Regions from separate parts of the Homo sapiens genome. Here regions 1, 2, 3, 4, 6 and 7 are each linked to region 5. Evidence: promoter capture Hi-C in 16 types of primary human blood cells and fetal thymus (Javierre and others, 2016). All regions are on one chromosome and are shown on one strand. Each heading gives the region's core, a stretch centred on a gene start or on the middle of the fragment in contact. The rest is flanking DNA. Distances are from core to core; before and after follow the strand shown.

Evidence for each region. The method cuts DNA at HindIII sites, captures the fragments that hold promoters and counts their contacts. A CHiCAGO score of 5 or more calls a contact.
Region 1: a contact is called between a fragment that was not itself captured here and the fragment with the promoter of RLIG1 in region 5, in 1 of 17 cell types (naive CD8 T cells). The highest score is 6.8, in naive CD8 T cells.
Region 2: a contact is called between a fragment that was not itself captured here and the fragment with the promoter of RLIG1 in region 5, in 1 of 17 cell types (total CD8 T cells). The highest score is 6.8, in total CD8 T cells.
Region 3: the fragment with the promoter of SOCS2-AS1 here is called in contact with the fragment with the promoter of RLIG1 in region 5 in 2 of 17 cell types (non-activated CD4 T cells and total CD8 T cells); the score reaches 8.0 in non-activated CD4 T cells.
Region 4: a fragment that was not itself captured here is called in contact with the fragment with the promoter of RLIG1 in region 5 in 1 of 17 cell types (naive CD8 T cells); the score reaches 5.3 in naive CD8 T cells.
Region 6: a fragment that was not itself captured here is called in contact with the fragment with the promoter of RLIG1 in region 5 in 1 of 17 cell types (naive CD8 T cells); the score reaches 6.6 in naive CD8 T cells.
Region 7: a fragment that was not itself captured here is called in contact with the fragment with the promoter of RLIG1 in region 5 in 2 of 17 cell types (total CD8 T cells and naive B cells); the score reaches 7.0 in total CD8 T cells.

The regions. Positions count from the first base shown.
Region 1 is chr12:82,362,104-82,365,904 of GRCh38, reverse strand. All of the region lies in intron 1 of METTL25 (methyltransferase like 25), which reads right to left. Among named protein-coding and RNA genes, the nearest start is that of METTL25, 5.5 kb to the right of the region's middle. The HindIII fragment of the contact is 5,535 bases long and covers 1-3,801 here.
Region 2 is chr12:93,666,384-93,670,275 of GRCh38, reverse strand. No RefSeq gene overlaps it. Among named protein-coding and RNA genes, the nearest start is that of CRADD, 9.0 kb to the left of the region's middle. The HindIII fragment of the contact is 174 bases long and covers 2,288-2,461 here.
Region 3 is chr12:93,569,238-93,573,412 of GRCh38, reverse strand. SOCS2-AS1 (SOCS2 antisense RNA 1) reads left to right here and starts at 2,015. Exons shown (of 4, transcript NR_038263.1): 1 at 2,015-2,148. SOCS2 (suppressor of cytokine signaling 2) reads right to left here and starts at 738. Exons shown (of 2, transcript NM_001270471.2): 1 at 377-738. The coding sequence starts at 515. RefSeq lists an enhancer at 1-74 and silencers at 1,292-1,601, 1,612-1,661, 2,022-2,301, 2,672-2,861, 2,922-2,971. The HindIII fragment of the contact is 2,692 bases long and covers 862-3,553 here.
Region 4 is chr12:95,844,949-95,848,989 of GRCh38, reverse strand. All of the region lies in intron 1 of SNRPF-DT (SNRPF divergent transcript), which reads left to right. Among named protein-coding and RNA genes, the nearest start is that of SNRPF-DT, 12 kb to the left of the region's middle. The HindIII fragment of the contact is 991 bases long and covers 1,158-2,148 here.
Region 5 is chr12:88,033,816-88,037,835 of GRCh38, reverse strand. RLIG1 (RNA 5'-phosphate and 3'-OH ligase 1) reads right to left here and starts at 2,300. Exons shown (of 7, transcript NM_001009894.3): 1 at 2,098-2,300. The coding sequence starts at 2,187. LOC107984542 (a long non-coding RNA gene) reads left to right here and starts at 2,340. Exons shown (of 3, transcript XR_007063395.1): 1 at 2,340-2,422; 2 at 3,489-4,020. The HindIII fragment of the contact is 2,128 bases long and covers 1,746-3,873 here.
Region 6 is chr12:93,472,147-93,476,132 of GRCh38, reverse strand. All of the region lies in intron 2 of MRPL42 (mitochondrial ribosomal protein L42), which reads right to left. Among named protein-coding and RNA genes, the nearest start is that of MRPL42, 6.6 kb to the right of the region's middle. The HindIII fragment of the contact is 4,058 bases long and covers 453-3,986 here.
Region 7 is chr12:82,345,054-82,349,238 of GRCh38, reverse strand. No RefSeq gene overlaps it. Among named protein-coding and RNA genes, the nearest start is that of CCDC59, 11 kb to the left of the region's middle. The HindIII fragment of the contact is 231 bases long and covers 2,750-2,980 here.

The sequences.
Region 1 (3,801 bases), core at 860-3,359, 5.7 Mb after region 5:
TTCACTGTGTTAGCCAGGAGGGTGTCGATCTCCTGACCTCGTGATCCCCCCGCCTCGGCCTCCCAAAGTGCTGGGATTGCAGGCGTGAGCCACCGCGCCCGGCCGAGGCCAGATATTCTTAAAATTTTCAGCAAGCTAAGTAAGCTGCTTAAGTTGCTTCTGTTGTTTTGATCTATTTCTGTTTCATAAAATATTTTAGCTATCCTGACTTAGACTATCTCTCCCCTCTTGCTTTTCAGAAGAATTTTCTAGATTCCATTAAACAACAATTAATTTCTGAAGATCAATGATGATTCTGCTGAGAATGTTACAGATTTACACTTACAGTCATTACTTCCCAAGAACACAGTCTGGTTTCCTTGAAGGAGCTATAATGAAATCTTAATCTCCAAAATAAGATATAGGTCATATTTATCCTATCAGCAAAATATTTAGAAGCTGTCTCTACTGGCTTTTTTGCTGCAGATGGTTAATCTCGCCTATATTATGTACTAACTTTTAGACATTTTAACCTGAAGTGATACTTGTTCTGATTTTATGTCCAAATTCCCAGGGTATTTTATTGTAATCTGTAATGTACTAAATAAAGTACTATATTTCCACATAGGGAAAGAACAGTTATTGATTTGTGTCTCTTCAAATAAATTTAAAAATCTATTAGTTGGATCATATAACTAATATTTATTATCATACACAATGATCATAAATATAACTCAGGGATCAACCAGAAATAATATATGTCTAGTTGAGTACTAGGTATGTGCAAGGAGTGCCTTCAATAAGACTCTTTATTAGATCTATGTTTAACTTCATTCTTTCAAGAATTATTTAAACATGATGTACACAATAAACATACATAATTTTTATTTGCCAATTAAAAATAAACAATTTTAATGTAAAAATAGAATCATTTAATTTACTCATCTATAAACAGAAACTGTTTATGATGCTGAAAATAGTGAAAAAGACAAACATTGTACCTTTGTTTTTTGATAGTTTATAATTTAGTTGCAGATACAGACAAGCCAACAGACAATAACAATAGTATGTTATTTATTAATATGGCAAAAAATATATTTGTTTAGAACATAAACTTCCAGGAACTCTGGACAATTTATTTCTTCCAAGTAAAGACCTAATTATACCATCACTACCAATCATCATCACAACCATCACAATCATGTATTAGCCACAATTTATTAACCCATGCTATATTCTCAGTTCTATGCTAGGTGCTATGTATACATCATCTTTAATCTTTGCTGTCCTAGAAGGTAGGTAATATTATCCCTACTTTTAAAAAAGGAAAGAAAAAACCCCAGATGTAACAGACAGATGTCAGCTCATAGCTGACCTTGAACTAACATGTAGGCCACAGTCTTTCCTACTAAACATGAAAAATTTCTCAGTACACCAACATCAGACAAGGTTTGTGACCATGCCAACTTCATAATCATGTCTGAGTGCAGACAAAAACAAGAACGTCATGTAAACACAAAGTTGCCACAAAAGCATCCCCGTAGGAAAAGTTCACATGGTATGAAACTGAGACCTCATGCCAACAGCCTGCACCAACTAGCCACCTCCGTGAATGAGATATTATGGCCACCTATGCGAATGAAATATTATGGCCACCTATGTGAATGAGATAATCACAGAGGCAAATATTTCAGCCTCAATCAAGCCTTCAGCAACTACAGCCCCAGCCAACTTCTTGACTGTGACCTCTTAAGATCCCAAACCAGATCCACCCAGTTAATCTGCTCCTGAATTCCTGACCCACAAAAACTGATGAGATAGTATAGGTTTAAACCACTTGTTATGCAGCAATAGATAATACATAACATTAATACAATTGTGTGTCGGTAAGTGTGTACTTTTCATTTCAAAGGGGCATAAAGTAGGTACTATAATTAAATATTCCTTAATACCATAGTTTCCTTTAATTCTCCCAGTGTATTTTCTTGGAGCTCTTTAAACATATTTATAACAGCCACTGAAATCCAACACGTTAGCCCAATTAGGATCAGCACTTATTGACTTACTCTTTTTTTCCTAAATACGGGTCACACTATCCTTCAATTCTTTCATCATAGGTACTAAAATCCAGCATTAGGGCTTACTTGGAATTAGTTTCCTAAGTTAGAGTCACACTTTCCTTTTTTTTTTTTTTAAACATCTAGTTTTTTTTAGTTGAAAAATGGAATGGCAGATACTTTATTGTAGTGAATCTATTTTGTTTTCCTAAGGATTTGTGGTGGTTGTTGTTCTATTAATAGTGGGAAGTCAACTTGTTTTGACTCAAACTGTGAAAACTATCCCCCCTTCAGAGTGCAGCAGCTGATGTCTCTGCTTAGTTGCTTTTTATTTACCCACTGTCTGGTGGTATACCTGAGCCTGCAGAGTTTAGCAGTCAGATAAAGATTTGGGTAGATTTTCTAGTCAGATTTTGAGGCTCACCCTTTCTGTAGTTCCTTTTTTTACAATTCAAAGACTCCCTAGTGTAAATTTCCAGTTGCTCTGCCAAACTTGAATTTTGCCCTTTCATACAAGAATTCAATAAGGCTTCTGATATTTACCACCCAAGTTGTATGTACTTTAGGAAATACACTCTGTTGAAGGTGCAGCAAACTTGTGGGATCTCTAGCCAGGGGAAGCTCTGCCTCTCAAAAGTTTTTTGCCAGTGTTTCTGCTAGGATCTCTAGGTCTCCCAGGCATGTGGAGTTAAGAGATCATTTGGGGATTCAGGCAGCGTTTATACTCAGATCTTAGATCTCAGACCTTTTGTATCTCCTGTTTCCAGAATGTACGTCTTAAATTTGCACCTGCTCCGATCTCTGAATTTTGCCATCACCACCTTGACCTGGTAAGGATGTGGTATTCCACTGCTAGATCTACAGGGGCTAGGAGCATCTCTAGCAAGAAAGCCATAAACTCTGACTTCCTACCCAATCAATCACAGTCTTTCAATAGTAACCTCTTCTTATATTTCTGCCTTTGGCATTTTCCAGAATCTTACAGTTGTTTTTAATAATCTGGCCAGTTTTCATCATTGTTATCTGCAGGGGAATCTGACCTCTTCAAGCTACTGTTCCTTGAAATGTCCCTGGACTATTTTAATAGCCTCTTATATTGTATTCCTGTTTCTTCCCTTAATTTCCTTCACCTTTCTTACCTTCTCTTCTCCACACAGAAACCAGGTGATTTGAAACATAAATCACACGGTATCACATCACCACACAAAATTCTCAAAGAGCTTCGCATTTCACTCAGAATAAAAGCCAAATACTGAGTACAGCCTACAAGTTTTATGTGAGGATGTCCTGGGCTACCTCCAAATGCCATCTCTCACCGGTCTCACCAAGACTGCTCAGCTGTGTTTAAAATGCACCAAGCGTGCTCCAGCTTGGGCACCTGCTGTTCACTTCACGTGAAAGATATCCCTTTCTATATATTAGCTGAATTACCTTTCACAGTATCCCATCAGGCAGGTACTAAAGTTACCCCCATTTTACAGATGAGGAACTAATGTACAACGAGTTGAAGTAAATTGCCCAAGTTAGCACAGCTACTAAGTGCTGGAGTCAATATTTGACCCCAGGAAGTCTGTCTGGAAAGCCATAATTTATGCACTGAAAAGATAGTTATTTCTAACATATTTGCTTTTTATTTTAGAGAATTAAATATTTTATTCTAGTTCTTTTTAGACGAACAATGAAGAAGAAACTCTTAGGACTCTAATGAGACAAGAAGATCACCTGGCACATGAAACCTACTGAAATGGACACACTGAGGACTTTT
Region 2 (3,892 bases), core at 1,125-3,624, 5.6 Mb before region 5:
TTACAGATGTGAGTCACCACATCCGGCCCAAATAGTGGATATTAATGTGAAAGTGGAGACTGTGTTTAATTTAACAGGCAAAAAAAATCAACCCATTAAAAATGTCAATGTACCTTCTTCTCTAATAATGGGAATATGAATGCTGGGTTGCCTAGAGTACTAGTTGGCTAGCAATAAAATATGGGCTGAAATACACTTCTCTTTACTCAGAGAAGCCCACCCATTGTCAAGAAGTGGAAGGGAGGGGAAAAGACAGAAGGAGTTATGGACTGTGGCCTACCTCACCAAATCCATTCGGCACAAACGGGTTTCTCCTAGTGGCCTAAGAACATCAGATATGTGGAAGGAAACATACTGCCTGATATGGCTTAGATCTGTGTCCCTGCCCAAATCTCATGTCAAACTGTAATACCCAGTGTTGGAGGTGGGGCCTGTTGGGAAGTGATTGGATCATGGGGGTGGAATTCCCCCATGCTGCTGTTCTCATGATAGTGAGTGAGTTATCACGAGATTTGGTTGTTTAAAAGTGTGTGGCACCTACCCCACACCCCTTGCTTCTGCTCAGGCCACATAAGATGTGCCTCTTTCCCCTTCGCCTTCTGCCATGATTGTAAGTTTCCTGAGGCCTCCCCAGAAGCTGAGCAGATGCCAGCATCATGCTTCCTTAGCAGCCTGTGCAACTGTGAGCCAATTAAACCTCTTTTCTTTATGCGTTACCCAGTCTCAGGTGTTTCTTTATAGCAGTGCAAGAACTCCTAGTGGCCTAAGAACATCAGATATGTGGAAGGAAAAGGAAACATACTCTTCTTTAAACTTTTGAGTGGTTTGTACTCCATCCCTAATTTAGACCGCTTTTTCTTGGGGCAGAAAATTAATTTTCCATTTTTTAGTCTCTACCCGACTCATCTGGTACTATGCACACAGCATGTGCTCAGTAAATGTTTGACCAACAACATGACTGTGCTATTGATTTCCTTTTACATACAGTGCCTAGCAGTAGGCAGTCAAAAATGTGGGTCAAAGAATGACTAGTGTATTACAATCCGACTTATTTCTGATTCCCATTCATGTATACTAAAGAATGTGAAAAGGCCAGAATTTCCTATCAATTTATTTCCATGTGGGTAATTCTATGAGGACTGTATTTTATTACTGTAAGCTTTTGTTATGAGTCATAGATACCTGAAAATGTAAGAATATACCAGGAACCTCTTCTCTTTTTTAACTCCCATTGTCGAGAAGTGAGAGTGTGCTCTTTCCCCTAACCATTCTCATCCCGCCCACTCCATTAAATATTATCTAAAGGCAAAAATCCCCCAAATGTTTCGCTATGACCTTGTGTATCCAGTTGTCTACTTGACACCTCCACTGGAGTTCAATAGGCACTTCAAACTTAATCTTTCCCAAACCAGACTCCTGATCCTCTCACTCCCAATTTACTCTACTCAGCCTGCTCCACTTCTGTAAATGGTACCACCATCCACTCAAGTCAAAGACTTCAGGGCTCCTCCTTAATTCCTCTCTGTCCCTCACACCTACTGTCCGACCCATCAATAAGTACTATTGCTCTTCCTCTACATCATCCCCTAACCCATTCGCCTCTCTCCATCCTAACCACCTCTACTCTCTTCTACATCATATCTTGCTTGGACCCCGGAACTTTGCTTCATCTTTTCATCCATAGAGAGGCCTTCCTTGAACACCCAATCTAAAATTGCTCCCCAGAGTCTATCACATTGCCTAATTTCATGTTTTTCTTAGCATTTATCATTACCAGTTAATTTTCTTATTTGTTTGTTTTTTTATTGGGAAGGAGGATATTTTCTGTCACTCCCCATTAAAATGCACGTCCATAAGAGTAGGGACTCTTAATGTCTTGTTTGCTTCTGCATTTCCAGTGTTTATTTATAATAGAGTTTGACACATAATAGGTGCTCAATAAATAGTCATTGAATTAAGAAATTAATGAATCAATTAGTGAATAAGCCTAATGTGTATTTGAACGTGAAAGATGAGCAGAATGCAGAACAACACAGTTTTTATGTAAGTAATAGATTCATTGAGACTAAATTTAAATTATCCAATTTCCTTTGACAGCTCCCACCCTAATATTTTTTAGTTAACAATCATTGAACATTTATTACATGCCAGAAACTGGACATTTTTTCACATATTAGCTCACTGAATTTAATTCCATCCTTGTACAGCCTTATAAAGTAACTATAACTAGTTAAGTGGCAAAGCCAGGATTCAAATAAAAGTCAGGCTTATTCCAGAGTCCCAAGCTTTTTATTACCATATTAATATGAATGTTCCTTTCAGATTGGCCAGATTCCCTAGAACACTCATCCAGCAAAGTAAGGTCAGGGCAGCTTAGCCTCAATGTAGAGCCCCATGGCTCTCCCCTAAAAGGCTGCAGCATTTGTGTGGTTTCCTTTGAGAGCACATGGACATCAAAGCTTGGCTATACAAGAGCATTCTTCCCATGACGCATATGCTGTGAGCACAGCAAGACATTAGCCAAAACAGCATTTCTTCAGTTAGTTAATTAATAAATATCTGAGTGTCCTGCTGAACCTGTACAATGATTATTACACATTTTCTAAGATTCAGGCCTCCAAAGTTGATACTTGACAAAATTTTCTTTTTACATACAGAAGGATTGGGTTCTTGTAAGGATCAAGTGAGCTAGTATATATGATATCTCTTTGAAAAAAATACAAACTATTACATAGAATGTGCACCATAATATAATCACAGAATTCTGGAAATGGAAAAGAACTAAGAAATGGCACCTAATTTTATGAAAGGGAACAGTGAGGCACAGAGAGGTAAAGTGACTTGTGGTTGAGGGGCTAGTAGCCTATAGAATGAAATTACATTGTTTACCAAATTCAATTTTCTTTCTTTTTTTTTTTTTGTTTGAGACGGATTCTTGCTCTGTTGCCCAGGCTGGAATGCAATGGCACAATCTCAGCTCACTGAAACCTCCGCCTCCCTGGTTGAAGCAATTCTCCCACCTCAGCCTCCCAAGTAGCTGGGACTACAGGTATGCACCACCACGCCTGGCTGATTTTTTTTTTTTTTTTTTTTTTAGTAGAGACCGGGTTTCACCACGTTGGCCAGACTGCTCTCGAACTCCTGACCTCAAGTGATCCACCCGTCTTGGCCTCCCAAAGTGCTGGGATTACAGGCGTGAGCCACCGCATCCGGCCCTAAATTTAGTTTTCAATCTGAATCTCAGCAGTGGTCCTTACAATCATCTTAACTGAGTTAACACACCTGATCTCAAACTTTCAAAATGATGCCAAGTTTATGATATTGATGTGGACATATTTTTTCTGGACCTTATATTTTATAAAACATTTTTCGAAGAGACCAGTCGCCCATATAATGAGCAGTAGGCATCGTTTCACCTTAATGTCTCCAGGAAAAACAAAACAAGACAAAATTACTATACATTTATGATCAATGATCTCTTCAAAAATTGTCACAGGTGGAACTGTAACATATGGCGCATTTGAACAGTAAAAGTCCTGCAGATGGACACTGTCAATGGGTGCTTTTTTCCCTAGTGACTCTCAACAGGAAGTGCCGACATTTGGAAATGTATGAAGATTTTTTGGGGGGTTGTCATAATGATTAGAGAAATCTCCTGGCATTTGGTGTCTAGTGGACAAGAATGTTAGTATAAATGGCCTGTAATCCAAGGGATAGTTCTATATAAAGAGCCATGTCACCCAGAATTCCAACAGCTACCCCAGACAACAGAAAAATGACTGCAAGCATCTGCCTGCTTGAGATAACTCCTTTTAATTATATATAAAGCATTTATTTTAATTTGGAGCTATCTTAGTTCATTTGGACAGCTATAACAAAATATCATGAACTT
Region 3 (4,175 bases), core at 766-3,265, 5.5 Mb before region 5:
GGGGCCCGCGGCACCGACTTGCTGATTGCACCCCGTGCAAAGGGAGGCGCCCGACGCTTTCCCCGGCCGGGGTTCGAGCCCGGGAGCCTAACCCTGAGCAGCTGCGGAAAACAGTAAATCTTCCAGCGTGCTAAGAAGCTATTTCCAAGAAGCTCTTCCCGCGCTCTGCGCTCCGCCAGGCCTGAGTCCCTGGAGAACCACTTTCCTTACGCATTCCCAAGGACCCAGGACCCTGCGAGCGTGCTCTCCGCGGTCCCTTGGAAGCAAGGGACGTATTTCCATCTTATTCTTTGCTTCCCACCTCGACCCCGCTTCCTAGCTGCTTCCTTGGGGAGGCGCTCCCTCCCGCACGCGTCGCGGCCGATCGGCTCCCTACCTGTCTGACCGAGCTCCCGCAGGGCCTTCGCCAGACGCGCCGCCTGCGGGGATGGCTCCTCCGCCGACCCCGCGGTCCCCCACTGGCTCCGCGTCCCTTCCCCGCCATTCCCGGAGGGCTCAAGGCACCGCAGGGTCATGAGAGAAGGGTCACCGCGGCAAAGACAGGTGGCCGCCCGAGCTGGGGTCAGAGAAGGGTTCGCGTCCTTCCTTGAAGTCAGTGCGAATCCCAAAACGAGTCCCTGCGGGGTGTCCGAAATGGTGGCAGAGAGAGAAGGGATGGGGCTCTTTCTCCCCAGATCCTGGAGGACGGATGACAAAGTCCCTCGCAGCCGCGGTCACCCACTGATCGCCTACAAAGAGAAAGCGGGAGGTTGGGTCAGTCCAAACTGGACCCCTGCGGCTGGGGTGGGGGTGGGGAAATAGACGTGGAAAATCCCAGGGACTCCTCCGCCTCTACGTTCCTGCACCATTTAACCCCAAGCTTCCAGTTAGCGCCCTGGCCCAGCTCTAGAGAAAAGATAAAGAGAGCAGAGATCCAAGATAAAGTTGGCTGAAGAGGTGGGGGGCGGAGGTCAGGAGGAGGGTGAACAGGGTGTCTTCCCGCCCAGGGTCACTAGCTGAAATCAAAGACTGGCGACCTAGGAAGAGCAAATAGTCACCTGCAGATCCAGTGGGAATAGGCCCTTGTCAAGGACAAGTAGAAAAAATTAAAAAGGAAAGAACAGGAGAGATTCCCCAAATTGGCATTCCGGTCTCACACCTGGCGCAGCCCGAGGGCCCCCAGGAAGAAGCACCCACACAAACTTGGTTCTCCGCCCTAAAGCGCTGCGGGGCCCCGAGGCACCAACCCGGGGTGCGGAGGTGCGGGAGCTGCCGCATCTCCGCCCGGGAGGCTCCTCGCTCCCCTCCCCCCGCTTCCTGGTGCCCGCTCTGGCGGGGTTGGGGGTGCCGCGGCGGTCGCTCCCGGACCAGGATGGCTGCGGTGGTTCTCGCCGCCGCGGGCGCTGTCGAGGAATCGGCCCGAGCGCGCAGCCCTCGCGGGGCTCCGAGGCGAGGCCGGGGCCGAGCGGGCGGTCGCGAGCGCTGCGGAAAATGCAAACCACCAACGCCGCGCTCTTACCTCGACCTCGGCCGCGGCCGCCGCCGCCGCCTCCGCACCAGGCAGCCTCCTCAGCGGACATGGGGCGGGGGGGTGGGGGGAAAAGGGGAGGTGGGAGGGGCCCGGGAGAGGAGGGGCGTCTGCCCTTGTTTCCCCCGTTAACGTTTAATTTGGGAACGAGATGCCCGGGGATGCAACCAGCCCCGCGCTCGGAGGCGGCGGTCGGAGTTCCGTGCGCAGAGGGCACACAAAAGCCTCGAGGATCATTGCCTCGACCCCATCCCCCACCGCGCGGCGACGCCCCCTACGGGCTGGGACACCTCCACTCTCGGACTGCTGCCGGGTTTCCCTCCGGCTGCGACCCTGGAGGTGGGAAGGAGAGAGGGAGGGAGGGAGGAAGGAGCGAGGGCGGGAGGCAGGCCGGTGGGGAGGAGCGGGAGATCAGGTTATTAGGAGGATTATTAATTTGAATGGCAGTTTAGGGGAAATAAAAAAAAGAAACTCCAGACACTTCCAGACGCCGAGAAGGGGCTGGAGAAAGCAGGCAGCAACGCTAGGCCGCGGGGCAGAGCCGCGGTTCGGACTCTCTCTTCCCCGGCGCTCCGAGCTGCGGAAGCCCAGGCCGTCCGCCGCTCCCCGGCGCACGCGGCCGCGCCTCGCCGCCCTCCCCGGTAACTCTCCTCGGGGCGGAGCCTTCGGGCTTCCCCCACTACCGGTACCTGCCGCGGGCGCCCGAGCTGCGGGCACGGGGTATCCTGAGGCTGTGCACCCGGGACCCCGGCGCGCACTGTCCGCGGGCCACGCGGTGAGGGTGGCTGCGGGCGAGAGGGCTCATGCTTCAGGGGAAGCCCAAGGCCCGCCAGCCGCGGCGGCTGCGACGAGACTTGGCAAGAGTTAAACGTCGGTCCCAGGAGCAGCGAGTGCGCGCGACTTCCCAGACCGACGCGCCTCCCTTGCTCCCCGCCTCCCTCCCCAGTCAGCGCTCCGCTCGCGCCCCGCCCGGCTGCTGCGGAGGCGGCTTTCCAGGAACTTTCCAGGAATCGGCCTCACGTGACCGCGGGCCCCGCTACTGCTTTAAAGAGGCTCGGTCGCAATACACAGGCTTCAGGGAAGACCGGGTGAGAGCGCTCGGGTGCAGGGCGGGCGGTGTGCACGCCGGGGTCGGCCTGCCTCTGGCCCCACACCCCGGGGTGCTCGGGCGCAAGCTAGAGATCTCCCCGGCCACCGGCTACAGCCAACCCCGTTTCGGCGGCCGGAGCCTGCCCCCTACCCGGGCCAGCTGAGCGCCCGGGTTCAGGGAAGGATAGCGATCCTTGGCCCTTGGCCTGCCACGGGGGTGGGTTCCTCTAAACATCCCGGCGGCGCCCCCTCGATGCGACCCTCCTGGCCGCACTTTTGCGGGGGGTGGGCGTGCAGGAGCGACTGTGGGTCCTCGGAAACCAGACTCTCCGGCTCTAAGACACATCGATGGCGTGGGGACGCCGTGCTCGTCCCGGTGCCCACGGCCGGGGACCGGAGGCGGTCCCCTTGATCAGGTCCTGGAAGGCAGCGAGCGGGAGAGCAGCGCCTCCTTAAGCGGCGCCGGCCGTCCTTAGTCCCCTCCCCCTGGCGCTCCGGCTCCTTGTCACCCGCACCCACCCGGCTCCTCCCTTCCTCCTCCCCTCTGCTCCAACGTCTCCGGTAGACCCGGCGGCCCGCCCGGGTCACCTGCGCCGGCTGCTAAGGGGGCGCCCTTACCTGCGCGCCCGGAAGGGGCTTGGTGACTGGCCTCGGTTCCCTCAGTCCGGAGAGTGTCTCTGCCATTCCCTGCAGGGCTGACGCCCCAGGGCTGGGATTCGGAAGGATCTCGGCACCTCTACCCTACCTGGGATTCTCACCTCCAACCCCGTTGGAGGCCCCCTGGCCTTAGTGGAAACTCATCTCCTTGTCTGCGCACCCGCCCCCGAAATATGACCTACTTGAAATGTGACCTACTTTTTAAAAGAAACCCTTAACAATCACGGGAAAACCGGATCCAAAATTTCGATAAGCATTTTTCTTTGAAATACTATTCTATTGCATCACTGCTCGAAAGCTTGAAAGGTCAATGGCCACTTTTAGTTGAGGCCGCGGCTATGGGAAGTTGGGCGAGGAAGGGGGAGGGGTGGGAGGGAGGCGCGTCTTGCAAACTTTGCCTGGTGCCCCCCCTGCCGGCTCTGGGAGGAAACGGGAACCAGCTCCCAACCTTGGGGTCTGCAGCCGGGGACCAATGGTTTTCTCAATAATTTTCCTGCTTTTGAGTACATAATTCTATGCAGATGATAAGCAGATGAGTCGGGGAGGGGGGCATTTCCCAGCTAACAAAGAGCTTTGTTAACGCTGGAGCCGTGTGCCCTTAATCATGTTTCGTTTTTTAGAAAGAGCCTTTTATAGTGTGGGCGGAGCTAACTGAACCCTAGTTAAAATCCTCTACAAAGTAGTTGAATAATTTTGCACAAGGCACTTACCCTCTTTGGACCTCTGGCCCTTTTTATAACATGAAGGGCTAGATTCGGGTTCTGGGTGAGGGACTGGGATAAAGGAACAAATCAGATTCCATGTGAAGCCTGTGTACAGTCTGAGGCCCCAAGCCTTTTAAGAACCACTATGTCTACTAGGGTTAACTGCCCTCTAAATTGTCCTAATATGGCTTCTTATTCCTTGATGGAGAATCCTAGAG
Region 4 (4,041 bases), core at 404-2,903, 7.8 Mb before region 5:
GTTGCCAGAGGTATCTGACCTCCTTTCCTTCAAAACAAACCGAAGACCTGGACATTTTAGTTGGATATGGGTAACCTTTGTTGGTTACCCATGACTAGCAGCCTAAAACAAACTCCTTCATCTCTTTCCCTTCTGTCCCATGAACCGCAAAGCTGGCCCTTGCACCGCCGGCCATGCTTTTTCTCACAACTCCACGTACTTACACAGGACGTTCTTACCACCTAGAAATCCCTCCCCATTTGCTTTGCCTGAAAAATGCCTCCTCATCTAATCTCCATGGCCCCACTCAAATGGGCACTTCATATCTGAAGCTTTCTCTGACTTCCCTAGGTAACTAATTGTTCTGTCACATGGGCTCTACCCCACCTGTTTTAGCACTAACTACACTCTCTTTTAGAGAAAAAGGTATTTTATTCATTAACCCTTTGTTGCTATTACTAGTCATTTACTAGCACATAATTAGTTCCCTGGCACATAATGGCAAATTTCTGGAATGAATAAATTAATGAATAACTGACTTGAGAGACTTGGACTTTAAAAATTTGCACCAATTCAAACATATATATATATATGCCAAAAAAAAGGGGGGTGGAATCAGGGTGTCCACCCTTCTTACTCAAAAGAATGGAATATACTGAACAGTAGAGCATTCTCCTGCATCAGCCTCCCGAGTAGCTGGGACTACAGGCGCCCGCCACTGCGCCCGGCTAACTTTTTTTGTATTTTTAGTAGAGACGGGGTTTCACCGTGTTCGCCAGGATGGGCTCGATCTCCTGACCTTGTGATCCACCCGCCTCGGCTTCCCAAAGTGCTGGGATTACAGGCATGAGCCACCGCGCCCGGCCCTAGATAGCCTATATATTCTATTGGCTCCATTACTTGTGCTATTAGCCTTAACTTCTTGATTAGGGAACTATCTGCCAGGTTTCTTCATTGCAAAGTTACCTTTTAAAATTGTATTATTAAGAAGTATTTTGTGAAGGTACTTTGAGGCTATGTAGTTATCTCATTCCTCCTCAAACTTTCACCTACTGCATATTAGCATCCACTGTATTTCTGAGCTAAATCAGTTACTTATGCTGGCTGCCAAATGGTGATTTTCTGACTCCATCATTTCTTCTCCATGCATCAGTTGGCATTCCACTGTAAGAAAAGCTTTCTCCTTTTCCCACTTATTTATATCAGTATGGACTCATAGATTCTATTTTATTTAGTGGGTTAATCATGTCATGATTACTTATTTTGATGCTCTTTATTTTAAGGACTCATGAATTTCTATTTTATTACATGAATTTATAATCTGTTACTATTGTTATTTCTCTGCCTTAATTGTCACATATTTGGACAGGGGGATCCCCCATTAAGCTGTCTTCTGTGTTCTTTTGACATGTCATCCTCATTCTTTGAGCATTTCCTTATTTTCTGTCCCAATAAGATGTTCCCTGTCCCAAACCTGGAATCAGTCAATTCTCCAAAAAACACTGCTTCGTTTTAGTGGAGAATGGCATTTAGGAAACTAAAGATTGGTCTAGACAATAGGCACGCTCCTTGGTAGGGGGGTGTTGGTGCTTCCAGTCCCTCTCACTGGACAAAACTAGAGAACGTATGCATGTGTATACATACATACATGCATGCATATATGACCATATCCATACTTGTTTCAATATCGCTATTGAAAATTCCAGTTCAACACCACATGGCTTATTTTAGTTTTTTCAGTTTCCATATTTGTAGTCCCTTCCCCAACAGTTAGAAAACTGTCTCCCTTCATCCTCAATTTGTTTACTTATCTGATCAATCCCCTCCATGTAACCAAACTTCCATCACCACTACCATCCCCCCTCCCACCCAACCCAGCAAGACAGCCTTGCCTGACTCTAACAGCATGAACTGGGCCACCACTCCAGAGCGCGCTGACCTCCCCATTCCCACTTTGCTCAGCCCCACCTCATACTTTTAGACAGGATTATTCAGAAATGAAGGATAGACAGAAGCAAACTATAAATCCCCTTTAAACTGATGTTTATAATAAAAACTAATACAAAAGAAAAAATATAGAGGGAAAGAATTTTAATTTTTTCTGGACACCCTCCAATTGTTTCAGTATACCAGTATTCCAAGTAAATAAAAAAAAAATTTAGTCAAGCTTTATTATGTGATACTATTTTAATGTGAAAATTGTGAGGAAGGGCTATTCTTCTTATTCTTTTCCAGTTTCCTTTTCTCTTTCCATTTCTTTTTTTTTTTTTTTTTTTGAGACAGAGTCTTGCTCTGTTGCCCAGGCTGGACTGCAATGGTGCGATTTCAGCTCACTGCAAACTTTGCCTCCTGGGTTCAAGAGATTCTCCTGCCTCAGCCTCCCAGGTAGCTGGGATTACAGTCATGCATCACCACACCTGGCTAATTTTTGTATTTTTAGTTGAGACAGGGTTTCAACATGTTGGCTAGGCTGGTCTCGAACTCCTGACCTCAGATGATCCGCCTGCCTTGGCTTCCAAAGTGCTAGGATTACAAGCATGAGCCACCATGCCTAGCCTTCCATTTCTATTCTATCTCTTCTATTTCATGGGTGGCCGAAATAAGAGCAAAGGAATTATATCACAAATTGATCTAATAAAATACACAATGCTAGAAAAATCATTTGAGAAGTGTGTGACTGAAGGTAAAAAAAAATCTCTTATAAAAAATCATATAGTCAATATTTTAAGAGAAGTTCATAAATATGGTGATTAACTCTTAGGAAAGAACCTATTATTTATCAGTATATTAAAGTCTTACTGAAGTAAAGTAAACAGGATAGACTGGTAGATTTTAAGGCAAATTAAAGCAAAAAGATTAAGGATGAGAGAGGGAGCTGTTATTTATGGAAGGAGACTTAGTTAGGATTGAGGAAAGGAACTATAATTTATAGAGGGTAATTAGGTTGGGATTATGCTCAGCTATGATTAACAAAGACCCAAATTAAGGATGATTTAAACCAGTTGAATCATACAGTTTGGATATATGTCCCCCTAAATCTTATGCTGAAATGTAATCCCCAAAGTTGGAGATGGGGCTTAGTGAGAGGTGTTTGGGTCACGAGGGCAGATCCTTTATGGCTTGATGCTGTCCTCATGATATTGAGTGAGTTCCTGCGAGATCTGGTTGTTTAAAAGTGTGTGGCACCTCCAGGTCCTCTCTCTCTTGCTCCCCTTCCTGCCATGTGAGACGCCGCCATTCCCTCTTTGCCTTTTGCCATGGTTGGAAGCTTCCTGAGGCCTCCCCAGAAGCTGATGCCGGCGCTATGCTTTTTGTACAGCCTGCAGAACTGTGAGCCAATTAAACATCTTTTCTTATAAATTACCCAGCCTCAGATATATCTCTGTAGTAACACAAGAAGTGCCTAACAAAAAGAAAGTTTATTGACCTCTTTTGTAAAGGTGAATAGTTCAATACTGGGGTGACGCTTTGCTGCTTGAAATCTTCAGAGACCCTGACTGCCCCTAGCTTTTGATCTGCCCTCTTAGGCTATGACCCTCATCTTCATCATCCCAGATGGAGCTCTAACTACCACATACGTAGTCGAAGGGTTAAATGGAGGAAGGAGGGAAAAAAGGGCAAGCACCAGCTATCTTTAAAGGAAATTTTCTGGAAGTGGCTGCACAATTCTTTTCCTCATAGCATGTTGACCAGAACCTGGTCACACGGCCACACTGGCTGCAAGGGAGGATGGAAAAGGATTCTTACAGTCCCAGTGGCCCTATGCCCTGCTGAGAATCAGGGGTTCTAACACCAGTAGGCTGTTTGGGGTAGGCAACCATTGATCTCTATTGCCAGAGGGTCTACTGGATGTTGTCTATTTCCTTATCATAAAATGGGTTAAATTGGCCTGGTGCATGGCACATGCCTGTAATCCCAACACTTTGGGAGGCTGAGGCAGGCAGATGACTTGAGGTCACGAGTTTGAGACCAGCCTGGACAACATGGTGAAACCCCATCTCTACAAAAATACAAAAATTAGCCAGGTGTGGTGGCACATGCCTGTAATCCCAGCTCCTTGGG
Region 5 (4,020 bases), core at 1,051-3,550:
TTCTATAGTCTGTATCTGAAGTAGCATCATCTTACAAAGTGAAACAACACTGTACAATATAAACATACTGCTGTGTGTGAGCTTAAGACTTATGCACTATTGCAAACAGGTAAACTAAGAAATTAGCCCCTTCTAGTACTGATTCAATACTTTTAAAATATAATCGTCTAGTAGGGATTCAGTACTTTAAAAATACAACTGGTTTTCACTAACTTATGATGCTGGTTTCAAAGGATATCAATTTAACCCAGGGTGGTAGAGCCACAGGGTCTGGTCCAATAGCAGTGTGTGTGTATCTAAATTTATCAAAGATCCTATGTGGGGGGGAAGATTACTCTGCCCCATGGAGCTCCTGATGAGTATAAACATTCCTTCCATAAAAATCAATCATCTGCTCTTTGCTATCGACATATCCAAAGGACAACACGAGACACTGAGGGGTACACAAAGTTCTCCTTCTCCACCTGTCATAAAAGGCTTTAGACTATTACCGGAAAAACAAGGTACGTGTATTAAAATAGTGAATATCAATTGAGTGGCCCTCTACAATTTCTGGGTAGGGGAAATCACTGAAATGGCTAAATTGATAAGATTTTATGGAGAAGAACTGACTTGAAAAATTAAAAACACTCTAGAGGTGATCCAGAGTGAACAGTCTGAGCAAAAATATGAGACAGGATTGTGGTTGATATGTTCACAGGATGAAATAGATGGTTAAAACAGAATCCACTTTAAGGACGATGGAAGGTAGATTGAGCCTCATTAGTGGGAGGCCCTGAATTATAATTAAGAATGTGGATGCTATGCTATAAACGATACTGTAAGCTGTTCTTAACTGCAGAGAGGTAAGAGAAGGGGCTGCTTATTTTCCCTGGTGGAGAATACTTTCACAAACTACTCCCCTCAAACATACGAAGTTGAAAATCACAGTAGAGTGAAATACTAAAACAGATGATAATGTTTCATATGGATTACATTTGTTACAGCTAAAAAAAAAAGCCAATTACTGCTACAAACATTGAGTAATAACTGTGGTATTCTGACGAGGAAAGAACATGGTGATGATCAGTCTGAGTGGCAAGTAAGACCAGTTAGGTGGTGCAATGAGCAGGACATGAAATATTAACTGTAACAGCTGTGACAGCACTAGAAAGCAGGAAAAGATCAGATGCTATAAGGTAAAAAGCATCAAGGTGAATGGAAAACTGGCATGAAATGATTCCAGGGTTCATTCTTTAATTCAACAAATATTTATCCAGTGCCTACCACGTGCCAGGTCCTAGAAGCTGGGACTAAAGATAACAGGGCAATCTTTGCCTTAAACAAGTTTTAGTCCAGAAGACGAGAAAGCCAGTGCCAATGATGAAACTCAAGTGAGGTGGATTTCCAATGGACATGTTGGTTTTGTTTGAAATCAGCAAAGTTGGGAAGCACCCAACTAATCACTGGGGATTCTACTGATCAAAGACTACAACGTTTTATAGTACAATATGAAAAAATTACCCAAATATAGGTTACTCACTAGCATTTACCGAGGGCACACTATGGAAAACACGTTGCTGCAACAGAAAACCTTGAGAACACCAAAGTTAGAATAAATTAAGTAATTACTGGTAATATGAGGTGTGAACTTCAGTGACCTAATTAGGCTACTGTCAACACCGCCACTGGTTCGGACAGAACAGGTAAAGCAAGTCTTCTAATATCCACCCTTTCTTACTGCACTCTTGAAAAGTAGTAAAGCTTGGACTGTGGCAATTACCTGATTAGGGGGTTTCCCCAAAAGGTGCTGACCTGAAAAGGAAGGGACATGCTGTGGATGTGAGTTATCCATTTCCTTGCGAGGACAAGTTTGAATCTCCTGATAAGGAAAATTCTTTCGCAAATTCCCTCCCTCACAACTAAGAAAAGTACAAGAACCTGGAGCTCAGGGCGTACGGAACTCCCACCCCAGACCTCCCCAGGGAAACCTACAGAGGTTCCTGGCCTGCAGGGCAGTTCTAAAGCGCCCAGCCGCCCTCGCCGGGTTCGCACTGAGCCAGCGCCGCGGGGAGGAGCCCACGCGGGCCGCCAAGCCTGCCCGGCGCTCCTCCGTACCTGATGCTCCCTTTTGGAGGAAGGCTCCTCTTTCACCTCCGTCACAAACACACACGGCATTTTCCGCTGCACGGAGCCCAAGCGCTTCATGATGAGCCCAACAAGCAGTGCGAATGGAGGGCGTGCTTTCGAGCGGCGCCCGGTCCAGTCGCGGAGAAGCCCTGAAGCAGTCACCCGCACGGCTCAGGCCACGCACACTCCGCGCCCAGCCACCGCGGCTGCGCCCCAACTACCAAGCCCAGCGAGGGGCGGGAACGCCCGTCCAGAAGCGGCTTCCTGGCCGCGGCGCCTTCTGGGAGTTGTAGTGCAGAAGCTGAGGCGCCTGGTGGGTTCCCACGTGCGTCCTCCGCCCCCCACCCTCGGTTTTAATAACCGTGAAAAAAAAAAAAAAAAGATGCGTTTCCCGAACGTGGGTACTTAGCAATACCTAGTAACTAATGATTTTTTGGGAAATTAAATAAGATCAAATTATAAGCAATGAACATTTCAGATGTCGATTTAACACAGTTCCAATGGAAACTGCTTGCCTGTTATCTTTAGTTCGTGGGGGAAGCACTGTAGAAGTTTAGAAATGGCTAGAGACATCCCCAGATTCCCAAGCAGAATGAAAACTTCCTTTCCGGTAAGACTATCAGAAAACCCTATAATAAAACACCTGGGATCAAAAAAAGTTGTCGTTTGAACTACTCCTTATTGTGCAGCATAGCATGGTCGAAATGATTCTGATGTTCTTTTCGGAGTGAGTGCGAAATTTCAGCCTTAGACTAATCCAAAAGTACAGGAATACCTACAACCAGATTTCATTCTCAAGTTTTTCATAAGAATCTTGTTTAATTAAAGGTGAGCTCCAACAGCCCAAATGGCTTGAGTAATGGTAGTCAATCAACTGCGAGCTAAAAACAGCCTTAACTTACTGCTCAAAAGAATATTTTGAGGGTAAGTGATAAGATGGACAATGACTAAATAAAATAAATACTAAATATTTAGGAATAGTAGCCTTTCCATCTCATTGAATGTAGTAGTTCCTAGCCTGAAGTTGTAGGGGAATTTTGACTTTACTGCCATCCTTTATGGGCTTGGACTAGGCCCAGGTCTCATTTCTTTGTCTTATCTGCATGTACTCAACTGTCCAGCATGTTACTGACTTAGCCCTTGGAAAAATTAAACAACTATATCTCACTTAGAGGTATCTAACTAGTAAGGGGGTTCTCAAAGAATAAAACATCTTCCTTTAAAAAGTTCACAGTTATATTGAATACTGACAGTGAAAAAAAATAAAATTTAAAAAAAGTTCACAGTTTTTTGATTACTGGATTCAGAGGGGAGGGAGGAAGAAAGAGATTTGCCATTTCAAAGTGTTTACTTTCTTTTCTACTATCTTTTTCTCACAGGAAAACACAAAATGTTCTCCCACATCACACCCCGCCTGCATTTATCAAAAAAGAAAACACCTGATGCTGGCTGTGTGCTGTTGGAACCAGAAACTTTTTAGCATATTATAGTCGAGTGCCAGTGACTTCTTTGTTCTTTCAGAGGCATTCTAAAAAGCGGCGTGTTTCACGAATCTCAGAGACAACAACTTTCACAACTATCAACTGTCACCTCCCAAACTGCCACAGAACCTTTTAAGTCCAACATTCTGTCATTTGTGGGAAATACTCATCTTCTAAAACACACTCTACTTATTCTTTGAATAGTAGTTGCAAAGCTAGTCATCTCTCAGGAAGCACTTTCTATTTCCAAAACTTTGGTTTCATCAGTACCTGGAGCAAAGCTTCTGGCAGAAACACAAATCCTCATCAGGGGAGAGGCACAGGATCAACTCACGGTTATAAACTGGACTCCTGCTCTGACGGGTAGCAGCCATCAACTTTGCCCGATTCTCATAATTCTGAAGGGTCACCAAGGAGTTGCTACCAGCCA
Region 6 (3,986 bases), core at 1,232-3,731, 5.4 Mb before region 5:
AGTGATGAAATATGAAATGATTTGTTTAAAATTAACTTTTCTTAATCAAAATGCTTACATTTTAAAGCATATTTTCCTTTTTTAGAATACCTGCAAATTCAAGAGCCAAAATTGTTTTTCTTTTTTTGTTGTTGTTGTTTTGTTTTGTTTTTGAGACGGAGTCTTGCTCTGTCTCCCAGGCTGGAGTGCAGTGGTGCGATCTCTGCTCACTGCAAGCTCCGCCTCCCAGGTTCACGCCATTCTCCTGCCTCAGCCTCCCAAGTAGCTGGGACTACAGGCCCCCACCACGCCTGGCTAATTTTTTTGTATTTTTAGTAGAGACGGGGTTCGCCGTGTTAGCCAGGATGGTCTCGATCTCCTGACCTCGTGATCCACCTGCCTCGGCCTCCCAAAGTGCTGGGATTACAGGTGTGAGCCACCGTGCTCAGCTATAAACTGCTTTTTTAAAAGCTTGTGAAAGATTCTCCTATGTTCAAAAAAGGGTATTCTTTTAATATAAAGAAAAAAATTTAAAAGTAGCTCAATATAGTTAAAAGCAAGTTTTGAATGCACCTTGGTCAATGCCAAGAATCAAAGTCTCAACAGAGCCTCTTGTTCCTGTGATATAGAACTGTAACCTATCCTGCCTTCCCTATCTCCATGCCTTTACCATGTCCTCAGTATGGAATTCCAGCCCCATTTTGTTCAAATACCCCTCATCCTTAAAAGTCAAATATTCGCCAGGCGCAGTGGCTCATGCCTGTAATCCCAGCACTTTGGGAGGCCAGGGCAGGTGGATCACTTGAGGTCAGGAGTTCAAGACCAGCCTGGCCAACATGGTGAAACCCCCTCTCTATTAAAAATACAAAAAATTAGCCGGGTGTGGTGGTGCATGCCTGTAATCCCAGCTACTCGGGAGGCTAAGACAGGAGAATCACTTGAACCCGGGAGGCAGAAGTTGCCGTGAGACAAGATCGTGCCATTGCACTCCAGCCTGGGCGAGAGTGAGACTTCATCTCAAAAAAAAAAAGGTCAAACACTCTTCTTCCATGAAATCCTTTTTACTCTCCCTGCCCCCAAGGTTCTTCACAGAAGAAAGAGTTGTCTATCTCAGCTCATTGCAACCTCCGCCTCCCATGTTCAAGCAATTCTCCTACCTCAGTCCCTCGAGTAGCTGAGATTACAGGCGCCCACCATGTCCGGCTAATTTTTGTATTTTTGGTAGAGACAGGGTTTCACTATATTGGCCAGGCTGGTCCTGAACTCCTGACCTTGGGTGATCAGCCCAGCCCGCCTTGGCCTCCCAAAGTGCTGGGATTACCAGTGTGAGCCACTGCACCTGGCCATATTTTATTTTCTTGTTTGACATCACTGGGACCTTCCTAATTATGCATGGATTGGGTTAATATTAAAAGAAGTTTATAAAGCTAGGCATGGTAGCTCACGCCTGTAATCTCAACACTTTGGGAGGCCAACACTGCTCAAGGCCAGGAGTTTGAGACCAGCCTGGGCAACACAGTGAGATATTATCTTTAAAAACTATTTTTAAAAATTAACTGGGCATGGTGGCATGCACCTATAATCCCAGCTACTCAGGTGGCTGAAGCTGAAGGATCACTTGAACCTAGGAGGGTGAGGCTGCAATGAACTATGATTGTGCCACTGAATTCTAGCCTGGGCAACAGAGCAAAATCGTTTCTAAAAAAATTAAAACTGGTGGGGTGTGGTGGCTCACTCCTGTAATCTCAGCGCTTTGCGAGGCCAAGGCAGCAGGATCGCTTGATCCAGCAGTTCAAGACCAGCCTGGGCAACATAGTTGGGTCATATAGTGAGACCCCATCTCTATTAAAAAAAAATTAATAATAAAAAATATAAATTAAAAAAAAACAATTTTGTATCTCTGAATATAAACCAACTAGATGATATACATTTTCACTGAAAGAAACATGACTGGGTGACAGAATTAAGTGTTCTGAAATATGCAGACAAGAAAACTCAAGACAACAGTATTTTAGTTAACAAGAAACTCAGTAAAATTTCTACTCTGTGTTTACACAGACATTTGTTTGTGCCCTCATGACACACTTATCACATTCTGCCTCATATTCTGGGCATTCTTAGTGTTGCTAGATGTCTGTTTCACCTACAAGTCTAAATAAGTTCCTTAAGGCCAGGAACTGTACCTTGTTCATTACTGTGTCCCCTATAGTGCCTACACATTAAAAAGTGATTGCCGAACTGCCTCTCAAATGTTTCTGCATAACTGATGTTTGAAAAATTCATAAGGACTGGGCATGGTGGCTCACGCCTGTAATACCAGAACTTTGGGAGGCTGAGGCAGGTGGATCACTTGAACCCAGGAGTTCAAGACCAGCCTGGGCAACATGGCAAAACTCCATCTCTACAAAGAAATACAAAACATAGGCCAAGCGTAGTGGCTCACGTCTGTAATCCCAGCACTTTGGGAGGCTGAGGTGGGTAGATCACCTGAGGTCAGGAGATCGAGACCAGCCTGATCAACATGGTGGAACCCCATCTCTACTAAAAATACAAAATTAGCCGGGCATGGTGGTACATGCCTATAATCCCAGCTACTTGGGAGGCTGAGGCAGGAAAATCACTTGAATCTGGGAGGCGGAGGTTGCAGTGGGCCAAGATCATGCCATTGCACTCCAGCCTGGGCAACAAGAGTGAAACTCCATCTCAAAAATAAATAAATAAATAAATAACCAGACATGGTAGTACACATCTGTAGTCTTGCTTACTTGGGAGACTGAGATAGCAGGATCACCTGAGCCCAGGGAGGTCGAAGCTGCAGTGGGCCAAGACTGCACCACTGCACTCCAGCCTGGGCAACAGAGTGAGACTTCACCTTGAAAAAAAAATAAGGAAACATTCATTACCTGATATTTTACCAATGGAAGTAATTCTGGATATAGAAGTAGCAGAAGCTCTAAATATATAATTAGGACCAATGCCAAAGTTAACAGCAATTAAGCTCAATGTGCCAAAAGAATTTCAATTAACAATAATTTCTGTAATTTATGAGTTATTCTTGTTACATATATATATTTAATTGCATTTTGAAAGAGCTATGAAAGCTAAAAGTTGTCCCATCTTCAAATGCTCAGTATTTTACCTTGCTACAGAAAAGGAAGTACAGTAGAAAGTATACAGGACAAAGTAAGGTGGGAGATCCAGATTTTGGTCACAGTTTTTGTTTACCAAATATGTGACCCTGGGTGAACTTATGAGGGCCACAGAACTCAAGTTTCTTTACCTTCATAAAGAGGATAATACTACATGGGCTACCAAAATCAAAGCTGTTATAAGGATCAAATGGCTTAACATGCTTTGAAAACTGTGAAGTGTTCTACACTCCCGGGCTGACTGACCATTTGGGAAATTTTAAAATATTCCTTCTAGAATATAAGGAAGGCTTTTTATTTTTGCTCACTGAACTTTCTTCCTTAATCATGATTTCGCTTTGCCTCCAATCTTACTGTCCTTCCCTTTTTTATTAAACATCAATAATAACAGTAATGAAACTTTCTTTAATTTTAATTTTTTATTTTTGAGACAGGGTCTCACTCTGTCTCCCAGGCTGGAGTACAATGGCACAATCACAGCCTCGAACTCCTGGGCTCAAGCAATCTTCCTACCTCAGCCTCCTGAGTAAGCTGGCTCCCTCCTGGGACCACAGGCGTGTACCACCTCGCCCAGCTAATTTTTGTAACTTTTGTAGAAATGAGGTTTCCTATGTTGCCCAGCCTGGTCTCAAACTTCAGAGCCTGCTTCAGCCTGCCAAAGTGCTGGTATTACAGGTGTGAGCCACCCTGCCCAGCCCTTTACTTTCAATAATAGTAGCAACAGGAACTTTGCAGTATAAGGGACTTTTCGGATATAAGAAGTTAGGTCACTGAGTATTAGGATAACTGATAATGGAATGATTTTCTAGGGTAACCTAATTCTTAGTTAACTAGATATTTTGAGAGTTAACTCTAAAC
Region 7 (4,185 bases), core at 1,616-4,115, 5.7 Mb after region 5:
GGACATCTGCATTTTGCTGGCAAATTAACATTGGGTGCTTTTTATGTATTTGGATAATTCCCATTGAGAACACTTGATTGAATCACCCATGGAGCTGATAGAGAGCCCTGTGGTGGAAATGCTACTTATGGGCCTGATGACCTTGGGTTTTACAAAAAGATTTATTGAGGTATAATTGACTGAGCATACATAAAATGTTCAATTTGGTGACTCTTGACACTTGCATATGCTCATGAAACCATCACGGCAATCAACTACCTATCACCATCACTTCCTAACGTTTCCTCATGGCCTGTTGTAGTCAATCCCAGGCAGCCACTAATCTGCTCTGTCACTAGTATGCATTTTCAAAATTTTTATATAATCAGGATCATATACTATAAACTTTTTTGTCTGGGCCTCTTTAAGTCAGCATAATTATTTGGAGATTCATCCATGTTGTTGGATTTATCAAAAGTTTGCTCCTTTGTATTGCTGAGTGTTCTATTGTATGGACATAGACAATTTGTTTATCCATTCACCTGCTGATAGGCATGATAGGCATTCTTTTTTTTTTTTTTGAGACTCAGTCTCACTCTGTTGCTCAGGCTGGAGTGCACCAGTGCATTCTCAGCTCACTGCAACCTCCACTGCCTGGGTTCATATGATTCTCCTTCCTCAGCCTCTCAAGTAGCTGAGATTACAGACGCATGCTACCACACCTGACTAATTTTTGTATTTTTAGTGGAGACAGGGTTTTGTGACGTTGACCAGGCTGGTCACGAACTCCTGACCTCAAGTGATTAGCCCTCCTTGGCCTCCCAAAGTGCTGGAATTACAGGTGTGACCCACCACTCCTGGCCTGGCTCTTAAAAATAAAGCTATTATGAACATTTGTATATAAGTCTTCTACGGGCATACACTTTAATTTCTGTTAGGTAACTACCTAGGAGTAGAATGACTGAGACACATGGTAGTTAGTATTTAACATTTTTGGGAAATATGACACCTGTAAAATGACTGGGTACTGGAAAAGGAGCTTCCTGGTAAAACGGATAAGGAGCCTATGAAGTCAAATTAGTGGTCCAACAATGACACTCCTCTAAGGACCTCAGTAACACCCCATTGTCTGCTCTGTGTTTTATCTATTTGCAGGGTCGGCCTTCCAGTTCCTAGAGGATATGCATGCTGTATTTTCTACCTTAAATTTCACCACTTTATCTCAGTCTGTTCTTCAGAGAACAAATAAAATAACTGGGGAGGATGTCTCCAGCAAACACTGATAGGCTATGATTTTACCAGACTTGTAACTTTTCCCAGTTTCAGTTGTGTGAAACTAACTACAACTAACTTATTGCTCCAACTAAATTATTGCCACTCACTCTGTAATGGTGTTATGGAATTAAAGTACACCAGAAGGCAGCACATTGGAACAACCCAAATTACAGCAGATCCTTTGCATCTGTTGGACTCTCCTGGTGCACTGTTAGATCAGACTACTTCTAGTCTTCAGGCTAAAGATTCTACTGATGAGAGAAATATTTGCAATTGACCAAGTAAGGTTCAAATAAATCCTTATAACCCCCCACCAACGTCATTCCAATATCTACACAAACCTGAAGAAATCACAGGAATAAAATCTATTATTGAGTCTTTATAAGAATAAGGACAGCCATATCTCATCCTTGCAATCTTCCCATATAGCCGTTTAAGAAGCCTATCAAGAAAGGATACCCATTTATTCAAGAACTCAGGGTAAGCAATAAAATTATGATTTCTAGATTCCTGGTAGTTTCCAATAGGAACCTGTCTTGTCATCCAATTGCTGAAGAAGTAAATATTTATTTCATAGTGGTAGATGTATGTGCAGCATTCTTTAGTACACATGTAGATACAGTTAACATTTGTTCACTGTTTTTGTGGGAAAATTAACAGCATATGTGGCTATATACCATAGTTGCTCCACCCCCCACCCAACCCTCTGCATCCCTGGTTTTGCTTTTCAAAGTTTCAGTTACGTGTGGCCAACTGCAATCCAAAAATATTAAATGGAAAATTCCAGATTCCTAAGTTTTAAATTGTATGTTGTTGTGAGTAACATGATGAAATCTCACACCATCTCATTCTGTCCTCCCTGAAATGTGAATCATATCCAGCGTATCCCAGCAGTGTATGCTATCTGTCTTAGGCACTTAGTAGCCATCTGGGTTTTAGATCAAAAAATAATAATAATATGTATATAGAGTTTGGTTCTATCCATGGTTTTATGCATCCTCTAGGGGTCTTGAAACATATGTCCCACTGATAAGAGGGGTCTACTATACCACATATTGGATTTATGGACTCCTCATCAATTTGTTTTCAATCTAAACAAAATGACTTTTCTTTGAGGGTCCATTCTCACACAATATGTAGATGATATTTTGCAGTGCCCTCTTGATCTAAGTATTTCACAGAGACTCCATATTTCTTTTCAAGATTAGCTGAAAAGGGGCATAAGGAATCTAGAGAAAAGTGATTTTGCCAAGAAACTGAACAAATTATTTGAGTCATGATCTGTCAGTACATGGGTATTTTTCGTACACCAAAACAAAGAAAATTCCATTTTACTAAAGCTCTAAATTAAAAGACAATGAAAAAATTTTTAGGATTGACTGGTTATTGCAAGCAATAAATACCTATTTTTTTAAAAGTTGCTCAGTCTTCTTATGAACTTACTATGACAACAATTCCTGAGACTTTCTCGTGTGATATAAAAGTAGAAGAAGCTTTCTCATCTTCGAATTCTTCTCTTTAACAACATCCCACTTTGGGTATCCCTAAATCATCTAAAAACCTTCTCTCTCTTGTTCAAGAAAGACAAGATGATGCATTGGGAATATTAACTCAAGAGAAGCCTGTTTATTGTCTCTCTTAGCATATCCCTTGGTTTGGTAACTAAGATCTAACCCAATTTTCATGTTTGCAGGAGGTGGCAGCAGCTGCCAAACTGGTGAAAGCTTCTGCCAATGTGGCATTTACTTTTCATTAACTCTGTGGTTTGCATGTACTGGGCAATCACTGTTACTTCTAGGCAACACTCGACATTTATCTATCAACAACTTTTACATTTATGAAGCCCTTTTATTCTTTGTGCATCACTATTTACCATTGTACAAATTGTACTCTTATAACTGGAATTCTTCAAGATGAAGGGAAAACATGACTATAGCAATAACTCAGGAATTAAGCATACCCAGGTCAGACCTTACAAACACCTTTTTAGTTAATTCTGATTTAATATAGTTTATAGATGGGTTTTTACTTTAAAAAATGACAATGGCATCCTCTTCTTTCTGTATCCACTGAAAATGCAGCCATTAAAGCAGCTCATTACATTGTATTCTATCTTCCCAGGTAGCTGAATTAATAGCTCTGACTAAAGCTTGTATTGTGGCAAAAGACAAAAAGAGAACAGATGTGCTTTTAAGAATTGTTCATGATTTTGGAATGTTATGAAAACTGGAAGGATTTATGACCTCTTAAGATATTTTGACTACCAGTGGAAAAATATTAATGTTTTAGTGAAAGTGATTAAAAACTCACAAGGAGATCCTAGTTATTAAGATAGAAGTGCATACGCAGATCAAAATCTGAGGGCAGTGGTCTTGCAAGGTTACATCTAAATGAGCTGCTTTTCACATCGCAGCTAAAAGGGATGCTTTAAAATGGACATCTCTCTCCACCAAACTTTCAAAAGAAGTATTGTCTCAATTTAAACTGGCTATGGTTGACTTACAGTGATTAGCTCAACCTTCTGAAAGGCAAAGTTGGGGATCCCCTTTCCATAAAGATAGATTTTGGCAATTTTGGGATTTAGTGCCCCATAGCACCACAATCCCACCAATGAACCCAGGTCAGATTATTCTATGATTGTTCACGTTATAGAATTAAAAAAACTACTTTTGCATTAAATAAGTAATGGTAGATAACAAGCATAATCCAGGTACATCTGTTAAGGTGAGGCATGGTTCAGTTCCTCTACTCAAGACTCTTGAGGTTTTGCAGATAGGCTTTATACAACTGCCTAAATCTTTAGGCTATGTATACACATTAGTTATTGTTGGTAAAAGTTTCTGGCTGGATAGATGCTTTTCCTTGCCAAAGAGCTAACACTGTCACAGTTGTTAAAATATTAAACCATACATTCCCAAACGGAAATACTCA